3 separate regions of the Homo sapiens genome follow, and all the other regions are linked to region 1. The links are contacts of gene promoters, found by promoter capture Hi-C in blood cells and fetal thymus (Javierre and others, 2016). All regions are on one chromosome and are shown on one strand. Each heading gives the region's core, a stretch centred on a gene start or on the middle of the fragment in contact. The rest is flanking DNA. Distances are from core to core; before and after follow the strand shown. Region 1 holds the start of RAD23B (RAD23 nucleotide excision repair protein B). Region 2 holds the start of ALG2 (ALG2 alpha-1,3/1,6-mannosyltransferase). Region 3 holds the start of RNF20 (ring finger protein 20).

Region 1 (5,032 bases), core at 1,149-3,648:
ACTCTGGCTGCTGGGGAGGCTGTTGGGGGTAAAGGGTGGAAGCGGAGAGACCAGGTGGGACGCAGGTGAAGGATAATGATGGATTAGCTTAGGGCTGTAGAAGTAGAAACGGTGAAAAAAGGCTGACTTGGGGATATACTTTGGAGAATAAGGTTGACAGGGCTTGATAATGAATTGCATGTGGTGGTTGGGAGTGGGTGAGTGAGGGAAGAGAGTTATCAGGGATGAAGACCAGATTTTTGGTCTGAGCACCTGGGTAGACTGTGAGGCCATAAACTAAGATGGGGGAAAACTGGGAGAGGGGCAGTTTGCAGGGGGGAAGGAGGTCCAGAGAGAAATCAATTGTTCTCTTTGGCCACATTAAGTTTCAGAGGCTTGTTACATATTCAGGTGAAGATATTGCTTAGGCAATTGGCTAACTCTATAGCTAAGGGGAAAGGTCCAGGCTGGAGGTATTTCAAAACAAGGGCCAAGATGAAACCACCTGGTGACTACGAGTAGATACAGGAAGACAGAGGGCAGAAGATTGCATATTTAATTACTATGAAGGGAGTTATGTGTTGTGAAAGGGGAAATATCAGGTTAGTGGAGGGAGAAGCTGGTCAAGGAAAGTTTCTTGAAAACATTAAACCCAAGCTCCTTGAAGCCACTGAAAACCAAGCAGTGACATTGTATTAGTGAGGATGCTGTCCCAGAGAAGTAATTTGTAATTGGTCATAGAGCTAGTGGCCTGACTAGAACTGTGTTTTATACTTGAACTAAATCAAATGTGCCACAGGCACAGTATAAAACAGAGGAGAATAGCTGGGAGCGATGGCTCACATATAATCCCAGCACTTTGGGACTCCGAAGCAGGAGGATTACTTGAGCCCAGGAGTTCAAGACCAGCCCTGGCAACATAGGGAGAACATATCTGTACAAAAAAATAAAATATCAGCTGGGAAGCAGTGGTGTGTGTCTGTGGTCCCAGCTACTCAAGAGGCTGAGGTGGAAGGATCTCTTGAGCTCAGGAGGTTGACGCTGCAGTGAGCCGTGTTTGTGCTACAGCGCTCCAGCGTGGATGACAGTCAGACGCTTTAAAAAAATAAGAATAATCTTTAAAACAAAAAACAGGGGAATAGTGGCACACCCTGGGACACAGACTCTGGAGTCATTCTGTCTGAGGTCACATTGTGGATTTGCCATTTACTACTGGCTGGGTTATTCCAGGTGCATTACTCAACATCTCTGTACTTCAGTTTTCTATCTGTAAACGGACTTTCTACTAATAGCTAACTGCTTACAGACTGTTTATCATGATTTTACATACAATATTCAACTTCCCCCTCCAATAATCAATGAGTGACATTATTATTCTCATTCTACTGCTGAGGATCCAGAAGCACATTCACCCATTCCACAAATATTTACCGTGCACCTGCAATGTGCCAGGCATGTTCATGGGTGAACACAGCAAAATCTTTGCCTCTGTGCAGCTTCAGTCTGGGGTTCACAGGAAAAGGAGAAAGATGATAAACAAGAGATACGTACATTACAGGGTAATTATAAAGGGATACCCGCTATACAAGAAAACAGAGCAGGATAACAGAGATAGGAAGTTGGGATTTTAAGTAAGGCAGCCAGAACAGACCTCACCAAGAAGGCAATATCTGAGCAAGGATGTTAAGGGAGCCGGGGGCAACCTAGAATCCACCAGTGGGGAGAGTAAGGCGACTCGGAGAAAGGCGAGGGGCTAATGCATCCGTTCTAATAACTCTGACTTTAACTCGGGGCTAGATGGGGAAACACTGGACAGTTCTACCCCGAGGTGTGACAGAACTTGACCTTCATTTTAAATCGGTCCATCTGTTTAGGCTAGTGAGAAAAAACAATATTTGAACTCGGGCAGTCCAGCTCAGGAGTCTGTGCTGTCGGGATTAAAGAATCAGTCGACACCCCCAGGGCTGAGCCCCGCAGCAAGCGCCCCGCGGGTGCTGGCCCCCAGACTGTGGTTACCGCCATCCTTTCACTTAAACTCCGCCCCGATTACTCCCCCGCTCCAGGGCTCCGCATCCACTCTGCCGGGTCTCCACGAAGCGCTTCCCGGGCTACACATTGCGTAACTTCGGCAGCCGGGCGGAGCCTGCACAGAGGCGGAGCCGCGGCAGCCGGAGAGAACGCCCCAGCAATAGTCGCTAGGAGGAAGCCCCAGGAGCCCTTGCCGCCCACGGAACGCGCCTGCGTAATCCGGGTCCAGGCCGCCGACATTCCAGGACCGCCTTCCGCCCCGCCCCCAATTCTGGGGCGGAGTCCTCGGCCGCGCCGGCGCAAAGCGTCGCCGCACCCCACGCCTGCGCGCTTCGCCCGCCCGGCCCCATCCCCCCAGGTTTTTCGCGTGGGGGAGGGGGCACGTCTCGGCGAGTCACGATGATGGCGGCCACCATCCTGTGGTGAGCTAGCGGATTCCCTGCTTGTCTCGCCGACCCCCTCGCGCCTTCTGCAGACTCCGTGGCTGGCGCTCGGCGCGTGAGGAAGCACGGCGGCCCGAGTTCGCGGGGAAGGCCGCAGTCGCGGAGGCAGCGGCGCGGTCCGGGGCACGGGCTGGGGGAGAGGCCGCTCCGCTGGGCGAATGTGACAAGCCCCCACCCCCACCGCCTTCCTCCCCAGAGCGCGAGGAGCGCGGGCGACCCCGGGGCCCCGCCAGGCCACAGACCCCGCCCAGCGGCCAGCACCCGGCGCAGGCCCGGCAGCCGAGCTGCGCGGCGGCACCATGCAGGTCACCCTGAAGACCCTCCAGCAGCAGACCTTCAAGATAGACATTGACCCCGAGGAGACGGTATGCGCGCGGGCCGGGGGCAGGGGCAGCCGCGTGCGGGCCGCGGGGAGCGCCAGGAGCTCGTGGGGCCGGGCGGCGCGCTCCAGCGGGGGAAGCCCCGGAGGGCGCGATGAGGGCCCTGGGTCCTGGTGCCGGCCCTGGCGGCGTACAGCGGAGCCGATCCTCCTGTCTTGGCCGTGGGCTTTGTGGCAGGAGAATGGGGAAGCAGTGGCCGGACGCCGAAGGCCTGGTGGCAGATGGCGTGGAGCGCACGCCCGCGGGCCTGGGCCTAGGAGCTCGTGCTAGCGGGGCCGGAGGGGGATGGGAAGGTCCAGGCCGTCTCAGCCGTAGAGCCTGGCTTTCTGGTATGGGTGCACAGGTGGGGGAGGGAGACGTAGGCGTCGCCACTACCCCTGTGTGGACCTGGTTAGCCGCTTAGTTCCCAGAGTTGGTAACCCGAGAAGATGAGCCTTAAGAAAAAAAAAAGTATCAGGTTCCGTTTGCCGCCGAGAGGTGAGTGGTGGTGAAAATGAATTTGCCCCTTTCCCCTCAGAATTGTTTACCCTTTTATTTGCAAATGAATCGTTCTGCTGCCTTCCTCCCGCCACCAAACCCACACCCTTGCGTAGATTGCACTTTGAGGCCTCTTTGGTGATGGTTTTAGCTGTTAGAGCTCTTCACAGCCATCCAGGCTCAAACTAAACTTCAGATTTAACGGGTTTTCTGTGTTAGAAATCTTGGAATTGTAGGAGTTGGAACGCTGCAGCCACCCTCCCCCGATGCCCCAAACAGTAGCAGTTCAAGGGGGAAAAAAGAAAAAAAAAACAAAAAACAACAACTTTGAATCCTTTCTGCAGTTAAAGCCTTAAACATTTCAGAAGTCCACATTATACATTTTTCTGTATTTGTGACTGCATAAAGAGACACTGTTGAGGTCAGTACAACTTTATGCCAAGAATCTAAAAACGCTGTGAGTGTAAATTTACTGCTTATGTTCGGAAATACACCGCCAAGATTGTCATAATACTAAGTTTAAACCAGCAGCTTTCTGCCCAACTCTATTTTTAAAAGTAGTTGATTCTATTTTGGGTGGAGATCAGGGGCTTTGGTGTTAAGTAGACCTGAGTTCCATTTGTGGTTTTGTAACTTATTTGCTATGACCTTGGGCAAATTACGGTTAGTTTCATTCTCTGTATAATAGGGATAATACCTGCCTTGCAGAGATGTGAAGATTAGATGGTATGTATTTACTTGGTGGTCAGTAAATGGAATCGATTATTTAAACAATGGATTCCTTTGAGTGGAGATACAGTGTTACGTTTTACTTATCTCATTTAATCTTAAGTTTTGTACATCTTTAATTTTTTAAGAAACAGCCTTTTTGGGATTTTGGTACAAAATTATTTGATTTCAGAATATTTATATGTGGGTGTATGCTGTGTGATTAACTTCTTAAAAGTACAGGAGATCTCAGTTATACATGAGAAACTTTTCAGTGTCCTCAGAAGTAATTGACAATACCCTGTGGACTGACAGTACTAATAGAATCTAATTTCTCTTGAATATTTCTTTACTGCTTAATGTGCATTAATAAGTTGAAGGGTGAAAGTTAAAATGGAGTTTGTTTGATGATTTCAGACAAACTACGTAAAATGCCTATTTGACTTTGGTTCTTTGTGGTAACAAATGTTGGTGCCCCAGTAACTTAATCGGCTTATAATACTCAGTTAATTTCAGAATTATTGAAAGCTAAAGAAATATTGTGGCTTTTTGGTAAATATGTGTGGGTGTATTGAAGTTATGCAGTGACTCTGTCAACAGCTCCACTGAAGTATTTACGTTCTGTAAGATTTGTTTAGCGTTTTAGGCACTTTACGCATACTGTTAACTGAGAGTCAATGCTGTACCTGTGTTTGTGTGAATTCTTAACTATTTTTGCTGTTTTCCAGTTTATTTCCAAGGAAAAGTAATATGTTATACGTCTGGAAGTATATTTTTGAAAAGCCCATTGTTAGGGAGCGGTTTCTACAGCTTTCGCTGCTATTTATATAAATATAATTTTGTTGCTGTTAGTATAAAAAAACTAATACTGTTAGTCCGGGGCAAGAAATTAAAGCATTTCCTCTGGGATATATGGAACGTTTGCATTTAATGACTTGTCAGTTTTTATTTTAATGACTTTAGGAAATATTTTTCATGACAACTGTTTCAATTCTATGTTTGTAGTGGGTTTTAATT
Region 2 (5,032 bases), core at 1,813-4,312, 8.1 Mb before region 1:
ACTTCAACCAAACCAAAAACACAGACACCCACCCCGTCTGGCTAGTCTGTGGGCTCCTCATGGGCAATGTCTGATTCTGTTTTATTCCCCAAGACTCTCACCCAGTACCATATGCCTGGTGTACAGAAGGCTACAGACGTTTGCTAGATGTGTGCTAAACATTTAAAGCTTCAAGTCCAGTGATTTCCTCTTGTATAGTGCTGTCTAATAGAAATCTAGTAATATTAAAAATGTTTTTAAGGGTGAAATTAATTTTAACATATTATTTACCGAAAACATTATCATTTCAAAATGTAACCAATACTAAACAGTATTAATGAGATACTTTATATATACATATATTTCACATTACATCTTCAAAATCGGTTTGTATTTTAACTTTAGCACATCTCAGTTTAGACTAGCCACATTTCAAGTGCTCAACAGCCACATGTGGCTAGTGGCTACCATACTGAACAGTGCCGCTCTAGGATCTTTCTCCTTCTAAGGAACTGAATGAATGAACTATAGTAGTTTAGAGCACAAGCTCTAGATTCAAGACTGCCAGGGTTTGAATCTCAGCTCTACTAACTGGCCACGATCAAGTAATTTATCCCACTCTGGGCCTTAGTTTCCTCTTCTGTAACATGGTGACAAATTATAGTTCAAAAAACCCATATACTTTTTGTGATTATTAAATGCACTGATATATGCAAAACACATGGAGTTTAGCACACAGTATGTGCTCAATAAATATTAAAGCTAGTCATCATTGAGCATGAACTACATGCTGGCATTACTACAGACTTTCTTGTTGGGTAATCTTTACAAGTCATTTTAGTCTCAGCTAACTTAAAACCTGAAGAAGGTAACTTTAGGGATAATGTGCAATTTATTCAAAGCCACTTAATTAAAGCAGTAGATACGGAACTTGAATCCAAGATGCCTATTTCCAAGCCAATAATTTTTCCTCTACCCACTATAGTCTCAGCTGCCTCATGTCTACTGACACATGCAGGATGTTTGGTAAATGTCCACGTTACTTAAAAAGAAAGCTTCCATGCAAGCAAGGATGATCAAAAGTAACTCAGGAGTCATAATTAAAGAAACACAAATACAAATGTGATGCCATCTGCACCTATCAGTTTGGCAAAGTTTAAAATGGTTAATATCCAAGGCGGACAAAAGCATGGAGTAAGAGGCTCTATCATACATTGTGGGGGAGTAAAGTGACACAGCCTCCTTGGTAGGCAAACTTGGCAGTAGCTATTGATATTTAAAATGAACAACTCTTAGACCCACCAACTTTAGGAATTTCCTCAAACGACATATTTGCAGAAGTACAAAAATATTTTAAAAAAAAGAAGTAAAAGGATGTTCATTACAACACTGATCTATTCACAAAAAACTAGTCACAACATTAGTGTCCTTTAAGGAGAATGTTTAATTATGACACACTTAAACAAAAGTGGATTTTCTGGCCACTATGAAGAATGAAGTGAATCTCTAATATTGATACATAAGAATGTCCCGGCTGGGCGCAGTGGCTCATGCCTGTAATCCCAGCACTTTGGGAGGCCGAGGTGGGCGGATCGCGAGGTCAGGAGTTCGAGACCAGCCTGGCCAACATGGTGAAACCCCATCTCTACTAAAAATAGAAAAAATTAGCCGGGCGTGGGGCGCGCACCTGTACTCCCAGCTACTCTGGAGGCGGAGGTTGCAGTGAGCCGAGATCGCGCCACTGCACTCCAGCCTGGGAGACAGAGCAAGACTCCGTTTCAAAATAAATAAATAAATAAATAAATTTTTGCTGAAAAAGATGCCTAATAGTAGGTATGTCATAATACCAATTATGTACCAATAAGAAGATATAGATATACCTATGAAAAGACACAGGCTGGTGTCACCACAACTTCTGAAAAAATACAAGAGAAACTTAACGGTGGCTATCTTCAGGGAGTAGAATAGGACGGGGCTTTTAGGTTACATCCTTCTATACTACTAAATTTTTAATCGAGTAAATGTTACTTTTTAAAGTCATCTTTTTTAGGATGGGGAAAAATGCACGAAGGAAAGAGTCAAGAATAGCTACAGGGCAGATCCAGGTGGACATTATTTACCAAGGTAAAAAGCTTGAACTTTTCTCCAAAAACCAATGGGGAGCCATGTACAAGTTTTAATAGGGGCATGATATATTCAGCTTGGCGTTTTTAACACATGACACTGCTGAGGACGGTGTGGCCTGGCTCCGAACACAAGGACAGTGGGATGCAAATGGCCTGAAAGGAGAGTCAACAAAAATAACAGGTAAGCGGGAAGACAACACGCGAGTTACTCATTAGTAAAAGGTGACTGAAGCTGACTTCTAATACCAGCGTTTCTCAGAGCCCCAAAGACTATCTACCTCGGAATCACCCTATGACCCAGTTAAAATGCAGATGTCTGGGCCCCACCTCAGGGCACCTGGATGAAAACTTCCTGGAGGATGGAACCCCAGCAATCTGCAACTTTAAATGGGCCCACACTAAAGTTAGAGAACCACAGGCTCGCTCACAACCCTGACTTCTCCATGTCAGTTCCGATCTTTGCGAACCGCAGACAGGGAAGGTCTTCTCTCAGGGGTCATGCCCGCGGCCGCCCTCCACGGCGAGGTCCGCACTCGCGCAGCCGGCCCCGCGGCCGCCTCACCTGGTCGCACACTACCACGTCGAACTCCTCGTCGGCGAGGAACAGCACGTAGAGCGCCAGGAAAACCATGCGCACGTAGGCGCAGACGGCGGCGCCGCGGCCGCCCCAGCCCAGGCCTCGCGGCAGCCAGTCCCCGGCACAGCGCACCGGTAGCTCGCGGCTCTCGGCGAAACAGTGGCCCGGGTCGTAGTGCGCTGTCCAGATCTTCACGCTACACCCGCGCGCCTGCAGCGCCAGCGCCGCGTCCAACACCAGCCGCTCAGCGCCGCCCACGCCCAGGTCTGGGTGGAGGAACAGCACCGACGGCTTGGGAACCGAGTCCCGTTCCCGGCCCTGCTCCTCCGCCATGGCCCTGGAGCCGCAACTGCACCCCGCACCCTGATGGGGGTCTTCTGCGCAAGCTCCGCGCTCGTAGCTCCCAGCTGGCCACTGCGGGCCGACCCCGCCCTGCCGTACGTGCGTCAGTTAGGCCACATCAGCGCAAATCTGTGAGGGTCTAGTAACTGCCTGAGAAAATATCTTGTCTGACCCCGGTTATATTTTTCCTTCGGTAGGGATTGGACTTTCTGAAGGACGTTGTGATCCAAAGGAAGGAGGCCGGAGGTCTCTACTTCCCATACAGCAGGTAACTAAGTTGTCTGTAGCAGACTGTCTACAGGCATATCGTGAGACGACCCAGGCGTCCCTGGGGTCAGAGAGGACCTTGCCTGCAAGTCCGGGGGCGGGGCCTGAGTCAGTCTCGCCAGCTGCCGGTCTTTCGGGGGCTCCGTAACTTTCTATCCGTCCGCGTCAGCGCCTTGCCACCCTCATCTCCAATATGGTATGGCGGCCCTTCCATGATCCCCGCCTCTCCCAGAAGCCCTGACTCCTCCTGCTTTGCGCCGTGCTTTTCCTCTGTAGCTCCCTTGCTTCCCCCAGCCTCGGGTGTGGGTGTCTAGGCCGGGGTTCTGGGGCAGGCCTGCCGCGCTCACCCGTCTGTCTGCTTGTCTCCCTCTACAGCCTGGTCCGACCCCCAGTGGCACTAACGTGGGATCCTCAGGGCGCTCTCCCAGCAAAGCAGTGGCCGCCCGGGCGGCGGGATCCACTGTCCGGCAGAGGTAAGGAACCCTGCAGTTCGTTCGCTTCCAGACTCGGAGATAGGACCCAGAACCTCGCTGATTCTGGGGTGGAGACCCTAGCATGTGAAGATTGACAAAGGCAAAATGAGCTTCTAGTGACGTGGCCGTGGGAGTAGTTAAAGGCCTTTTGGGAGGAAGGCGACATTTTTTTTCTCGTTGCTCAGTTTAGGGCACTACTCTTAAAAAAGGAAAGTTAACAAACTGGAATAGAGTCAGAGATAACTTTGAGAAAACCGATGTCATTAAACTGGTGTCTCTGGACCTGAGGTTTGCACTCACATTTCCATCTGGCGGCCCCATAAGCAATCTGTCCTACAGATAACTCGTCCTACACAAAACTTAGTCTCTTTTCAGCTCAGCTCTCTCACTCTCAATTATATCTCCTTACTTCCATATGGCACTGTTGTACACTCATTTACTCAGAGCCAGAAACGTCAGCGTCATCTTGGATTTTTCTTATGCTCTTTCTCTCTCTAGTCATATGCCAGACTTTAAACTCTGCTTGAAAGCTTTCTCATAAGCTCTTTCCTTTTCCCTTTCTACTGCTTTGCATTTGCTACTTAACCCTTTTCTTCAGGCTGTTTGCTTTCCAGTCCATCGTTCGCTCTGCTGTTACTCTTCTGCGTAGTTTCTGTTACTTGTTGCTGAACTAAAAAAAACAAACAAACAAAAAAAAAAAACCGGGGGGATACCAAAGCTCTTAGTGGTCATTTCAGCCTAACCTTTCTTTTTCCTTTTTTTTTTTTTGGGATGGAATCTCACTCTGTCGCCCAGGCTGGAGTGCAGTGGCACGATCTCGGCTCACTACAGCCTTTGCCTCCAGAGTTCAAGCAATTCTCCTGCCTCAGCCTCCTGAGTAGCTGAGACTGCAGGCACGTGCCACCACACCCAGCTAATTTTTTGTATTTTTAGTAGAGACGGGGTTTCACCATGTTAGCCAGGATGGTCTCGATCTCCTGACCTTGTGATCCTCCGTCTCTGCCTCCAAAAGTGCTGGAATTACAGGCGTGAGCCACTGCGCCCGGCCTTCAGCCTAATCTTTCTTTGCTGTCCTATGATCCAGCACTCGTGAACCCATTACTGTTTTCTGAATTCACAAACTTTCTCCCTCATCTCAAGGCAAATTTCTACTTATTTTCCAAGACTAAGCTCAGGGGTTATTTCCTCTTGAGGCCTTCTCTGTCTGTAAGCAGCAGTAGCTACTAGTTTTCCCTTTTGCCCCCATAGCATTTTGTTCATATCATTAT
Region 3 (5,032 bases), core at 873-3,372, 5.7 Mb before region 1:
ATATGGATACATGAAAAAAATCCTGGTTCTGCTAAGGTGAGGGAAGGGGAATAGCTGTTGGGTAGATCACCAATAATGTCCACCAGACACTTACGTAGTACCAGCAATTGATTTATCACAATGTAACACACAAGTGATGATACTCAAATTAAACTATACTAGTGCTAAGGAACCAGTAAAGATTAGTGGGGATTATGGTAAACAAGAATAACATGATCTATTAATAAAAGAGAGCCACGCCAAGCGTGGTGGCTCATTGCCAGTAGCTGTGGCTCAGGCCTGTAATCTCAGCACTTTGGGAGGCTGAGGTGGATGGATCGTCCGAGGTCAGGAGTTTGAGACCGGCCTAGCCAACATGGCGAAACCCCATCTCTACTAAAAATACAAAAATTAGCCAGGTGTGGTGGCGTGTGCCTGTGATCCCACCCACTTGGGAGGCTGAGGCATGGGAATTGCTTGAACCTGTGAGGTGGAGTTTGCAGTGAGCCGAGATTGTGCCACTGCACTCCAGCCTGGGTGACAGAGTAAGACTCTGTCTCGAAAAAAAGAAAAAAAAAAAAAAAGAAGAAGCCACTACTTTGCTCTAAGCAATGTGACCATGCAAAAATATAACCCTTCTGTTGCAAGATCATCAACATTTTTTAGAGAAACTGATAATTTGGATTTTTATGTAAAATAGCCATATTTTAAATGTTGGCAACTAAGTTCATTTTTGTTCTTGTTTTTAACCACGCAGGACAGCCAATACTGTCTAAAATAAACAAAGCATAACTGTTGGCTAAATGCAGTCTGTGAACCTCTAGTTTTCTGGGCTAGAAAAACCATTACTTGCCATTCAGTAGTTCTATGAATGAAAGGCTTGCTAAGAGTAGAGGAACCAAAGAAGATGAGAGAATGAGTGTCATTGTCTCATACAATGCTTTTCGGCAGGTGTGTCCCCACTCACATGTTCTCAGGCTCCCACTTCACGGAATGAAATGTGAAGTCCACTTGGGGCCAGTTAATTCTTTCCAAGATAGTCAAGGTGTTCCACTGCCAGGCACCAGGAACACTTGTTTCCCTGGTGTTGACCATCTTACTTCATTTACAGGTAAGCCCTAGCAGGTACAGGGACAAAAGTCTTCACACTAACAGAAATCCAGTGTAGATTAGCTTCTTTTTTTCCCAAGATGCCTAAATTCTATTTTTTAAAAAAGATATAGCGATCATTCTTCCATTTCTAGACCCTTAGCTGACGTCATTAGGTAGTTTATCATAGTTCTGCGAGACATACAGCTTTTCATTAATAGGTTAGATTAATTACCGTCCTATCATTAAAACGCATTTAGTTTAACTGAATGGAAAATAGCAGTTTGTCATAAACTTAAAAAAAAAAATCAATGCTTAATTAGCTTAAAATAGACTAGTACTGAGATCAGAGACTGATTGGCGTTTATCTTTTCCCTGGACAATTTCTTGTTCCCAAAAAAGCACAAGGGCAGTAGTTGTCACTCCTGCTTACGCATTAGAATCTAGTGGATGGAAATGCGGGGTTTGGGGGGAGGAGATGAGGGGAACGCTTTTTTAAAAAAGCTTTTGTCCAGGCCAAGTGATTCTAATGTGTAGACAGGGCAGAATACCGCTCCCTGTGCGGGGGAAAAAATCCCCAACATCTGAAATTCCTCAAATCCCTCAGATTCTCTCCAGAACTCTTCATTTCAGCACGTAGGGGTACCAACGAACAATTTTCTGAGGTGTCTGAGGCTAGTCATGTCCCCGGAGATTGACGGGACCGTCAGCCAATCGGCCGTCTGAACGAGTGATGGCAACCCCAATGACAAGCAACAGAATGAGGAACTTTATCCCCGCAGAAAGACCAGATCGCAGTAGCAAAGGTCAACAAGTCAACAAAAGCCAAGGGCTCTCCGTCAGGCATCAGCGAGGCCCGAGTACTCTTAGAGGTCGTAGCCAGGAGAGGGTCCCGCGCTTGCCCAGCGTTGCTAGGGAGGCGGCGCTTGCTCAAGCTTCTCGTGCCCTCTCCGTACGTCACTTCCGCCCGGCGGGGTCTCATAGTCCTATGGGCTGGGTTGAAGCCACTTCCTTTTTTCTTTCCCTTTTTCCTCTCCGTGGCCCCGCCTCCCGGAAGTTCTGCCTTGTCTCCGCCGCGGGTCAGGGGTGAGAGCTGGAATCTCTGCACGGGCCTTGGTGAGTAACTGCTGCGAGTTCTGTTCCCGCGCGGCGCCAGTTCAAAGAACTTAGGTTAGATCACGCTTAGGGCCCAACAGGACTGTGCCAGGCCTCAGGAGTCTCCACCCTCTCCAGTTTTGGGGCCGTCAGTCTCCTGGGCCTGCAATTATCCACGCTGAGGCTGAGGTCTTTGGCTTTTAGCGAGTTGGATTGCAGCCTTGTTCTGCTTCTGTGTCTTCTCTCTCCAGGCGAGGTCCTACTGAGGTTGTTGCCAGCGATAGTCCTCTCCTGGAGCTTGAATTGGAAGCAGAGTAGTCTTGTTAGTCTCGGTGATGGCTGCGTTGTTTCCTGAAGTAGCCAAAGTGCTTTAGCATCCATTCCGCCTCCTTTGAGCACCCTGGGAGGTAGGCAGGGCAGACGAAAAATATATTCGTTAATATTGTGCAGTTGAGGAAACTGAAGCTCTTGGCGAATTCACTGTTTCAAAGCAACACGGCCTCTAACAGGCAGAACTGAAATTCGCACCCAGGTCTAACTAACGTAGGGTTGCATAAAACAGTGGAGAGAGCGTTTGGAAATAGGGAAAACACTGCAAACGTTAAAGAAGAGCTGGGGTTTCTGAGTGCTTACTTTGTGTTCGGCTTTGTGCCAAATTCTTTCTATAATTATATCATCCATTTTATTTTATAATAAGCATAGGAAGTATATACTGTGGTTATTTATTCCTGGGTTAGGAAACTGAGGCTTAGAGATGATAACTGACTTGTCTAGTACTAATGACTTTAGTAGGCATTTCACAGATCTCTTTCAGCTCTGTGATTCTTTCAACACTGTAGTATTAACTTCTGGCATAATCAAACTGCCCTTTTCTGATTTTGGCATTACAGGAAGAGAGATTCCAGAACTTTATTTTTGGTCTCTTCACCCTTTGCCCATTGTCTCATTTCTTATCACCATTCTTATCACCATCCTATTTAGAAATTTATAGTCATGTAAATTTAGCCTTGACTTTCTTTTTTTTTTTTTTTTGAGACGGAGTCCCGCTCTGTTGCCCAGGCTGGAGTGCTGTGGTGCGATCTCGGCTCACTGCAAGCTCCGCCTCCCGGGTTCAAGTGATTCTCCTGCCTTAGCCTCCCGAGTAGCTGGGACTACCGGCGCCCGCCACCACGCCTGGCTAATTTTTTGTATTTTTAGTAGAGACGGGGTTTCACCGTGTTAGGCAGGATGGTCTCGATCTTCTGACCTCTTGATCCGCCCGCCTCGGCCTCCCAAAGTGCTGGGATTACAGACATGAGCCACCGCGCCCGGCCCGCCTTGACTTTTACTCTACAATTTAATTTTTTTTTTTTTTCCTCAAAGAGAAATATGGAGATGGTTGTGGAATTAATGGATCCAGGTTAAAGGGTTGGCCAGAAAAGTTGCTAGTTTTTACTCTATTGTTTTACTCTATTGTTGCTTTGCTTACATATATTATGTCAGTTTCTGCCTTTTTTTCTATCAGGAAAACGACTGTCTTCTTCTGCCAAAATGTCAGGAATTGGAAATAAAAGAGCAGCTGGAGAACCTGGCACCTCCATGCCTCCTGAGAAGAAGGCAGCTGTTGAAGATTCAGGGACCACAGTGGAAACAATTAAGCTAGGAGGTGTCTCTTCAACGGTATGAGGAAACAGTGCCATGAAAGTGTGCTTGTCTTCTGTCAGTTGCAACTTGAAACTAAAAATTCATGGAAGCTTTCTGGAGTATGGGGAAGCTATTTGAAAAGAAGAGGGAAATAAAACAGGCTGAAAGTAGGTAAAATGATGTGGTAGTCAGTTCTAGAGGAGAGGTAGATTGATAGTTGTTCTTTGTTTTCAAGGTGTACTTATATTCTTTCGAGAATCTGGGAAGGTGGTGCCTGATACAACATTAACTATAGGTATTTAGCAGTGGGAAGATACACATTTATTTTTCATTCACTGAAAAAGTCAGTACCAGATTCTAAGAGACAGTTTAGCAATCATTGAGAGTATGGTGAAGAGTGAGAGTCTGAGACCAGATTGCCTGGAGTTGACTCTGAGCTGTACCACTTCCTAGCTGGCTGACCTTGTGTTATCCTTCCTTTGCCTGTTTTCTTGTCTGTAAAATGTAATTAGAGTACCTGCTACATTAGATTTTTATGCATATAAAATAAGAGTCCCTGTTAAGGGCTAACACTTTGCATTTAATATAGTAAATAGTCAATAAATGGGAGGCATTCATAGCTAATATTGGGCTAGATAATATAATGGTGCATAACATAGATATTATCCTTGCTCTTATGGAGCTGACAAAATGAGTATTATATACCAAAATCTCATAGTAATGTTATATATCTGTTAGACATCAGAAGTTTACAGGTTTTGATCTACGTCAAGATTTTGCTTTTTTGAAAATCAGACATGGGGATGTGATATTAAAATGTTTTACATTTTGTAAAATGCTTTACATTTGTATGGCTTGCAAAACCACATCTATTGCTTATTTGATTTTGAGGCTGAGGTTTATTTTAGAGAGGCTGATTTTTTTTTTTGAGTCAGAATAATAGGAACATTCATAGTGAGTTGTTGATGAAGTGTCATTTCTGAGGCTGCCTGAGGTTCTGGTACTTAATATTGCTGGCAGGAAGTGATTTTTGTTTTAGCACTGCCTTGCATCATGCATTCCAAAGGCATTTATTCACTCAATATATAAATATTTGTTGAGTATTTGTTATTTGCCAGACACTATCCTTTACACTGAAGACAGCCCCTAGACTTTAGTTTGTAGGGTAGCACTGACAAGGGAATAGACTGTTTAGAGTGGGGTATGTGCTGTTGACAGGGATAAGCACATACTTATGGGAAGCACA

Evidence for each region. Contacts are between HindIII fragments. The CHiCAGO score rates a contact against its expected background, and 5 or more counts as called.
Region 2: the fragment with the promoter of ALG2 here is called in contact with the fragment with the promoter of RAD23B in region 1 in 1 of 17 cell types (naive CD4 T cells); the score reaches 5.5 in naive CD4 T cells.
Region 3: the fragment with the promoter of RNF20 here is called in contact with the fragment with the promoter of RAD23B in region 1 in 4 of 17 cell types (total CD8 T cells, activated CD4 T cells, naive CD4 T cells and 1 more); the score reaches 9.4 in total CD8 T cells.

What each region holds. Positions count from the first base shown.
Region 1 is chr9:107,280,881-107,285,912 of GRCh38, forward strand. RAD23B (RAD23 nucleotide excision repair protein B) reads left to right here and starts at 2,399. Exons shown (of 10, transcript NM_002874.5): 1 at 2,399-2,815. The coding sequence starts at 2,750. RefSeq lists an enhancer at 1,728-1,887 and a silencer at 2,378-2,937. The HindIII fragment of the contact is 9,258 bases long and covers 1-5,032 here.
Region 2 is chr9:99,218,880-99,223,911 of GRCh38, forward strand. It overlaps ALG2 (ALG2 alpha-1,3/1,6-mannosyltransferase), which reads right to left and starts at 3,063. Exons shown (of 2, transcript NM_033087.4): 1 at 2,668-3,063. The coding sequence starts at 3,015. It overlaps SEC61B (SEC61 translocon subunit beta), which reads left to right and starts at 3,403. Exons shown (of 4, transcript NM_006808.3): 1 at 3,403-3,487; 2 at 3,667-3,764. The coding sequence starts at 3,485. RefSeq lists enhancers at 1-152, 3,153-3,472 and a cis regulatory region at 68. The HindIII fragment of the contact is 2,183 bases long and covers 2,110-4,292 here.
Region 3 is chr9:101,531,731-101,536,762 of GRCh38, forward strand. RNF20 (ring finger protein 20) reads left to right here and starts at 2,123. Exons shown (of 20, transcript NM_019592.7): 1 at 2,123-2,184; 2 at 3,668-3,822. The coding sequence starts at 3,694. It also overlaps a transcript of PGAP4 not described here. RefSeq lists an enhancer at 1,865-1,994. The HindIII fragment of the contact is 1,893 bases long and covers 2,002-3,894 here.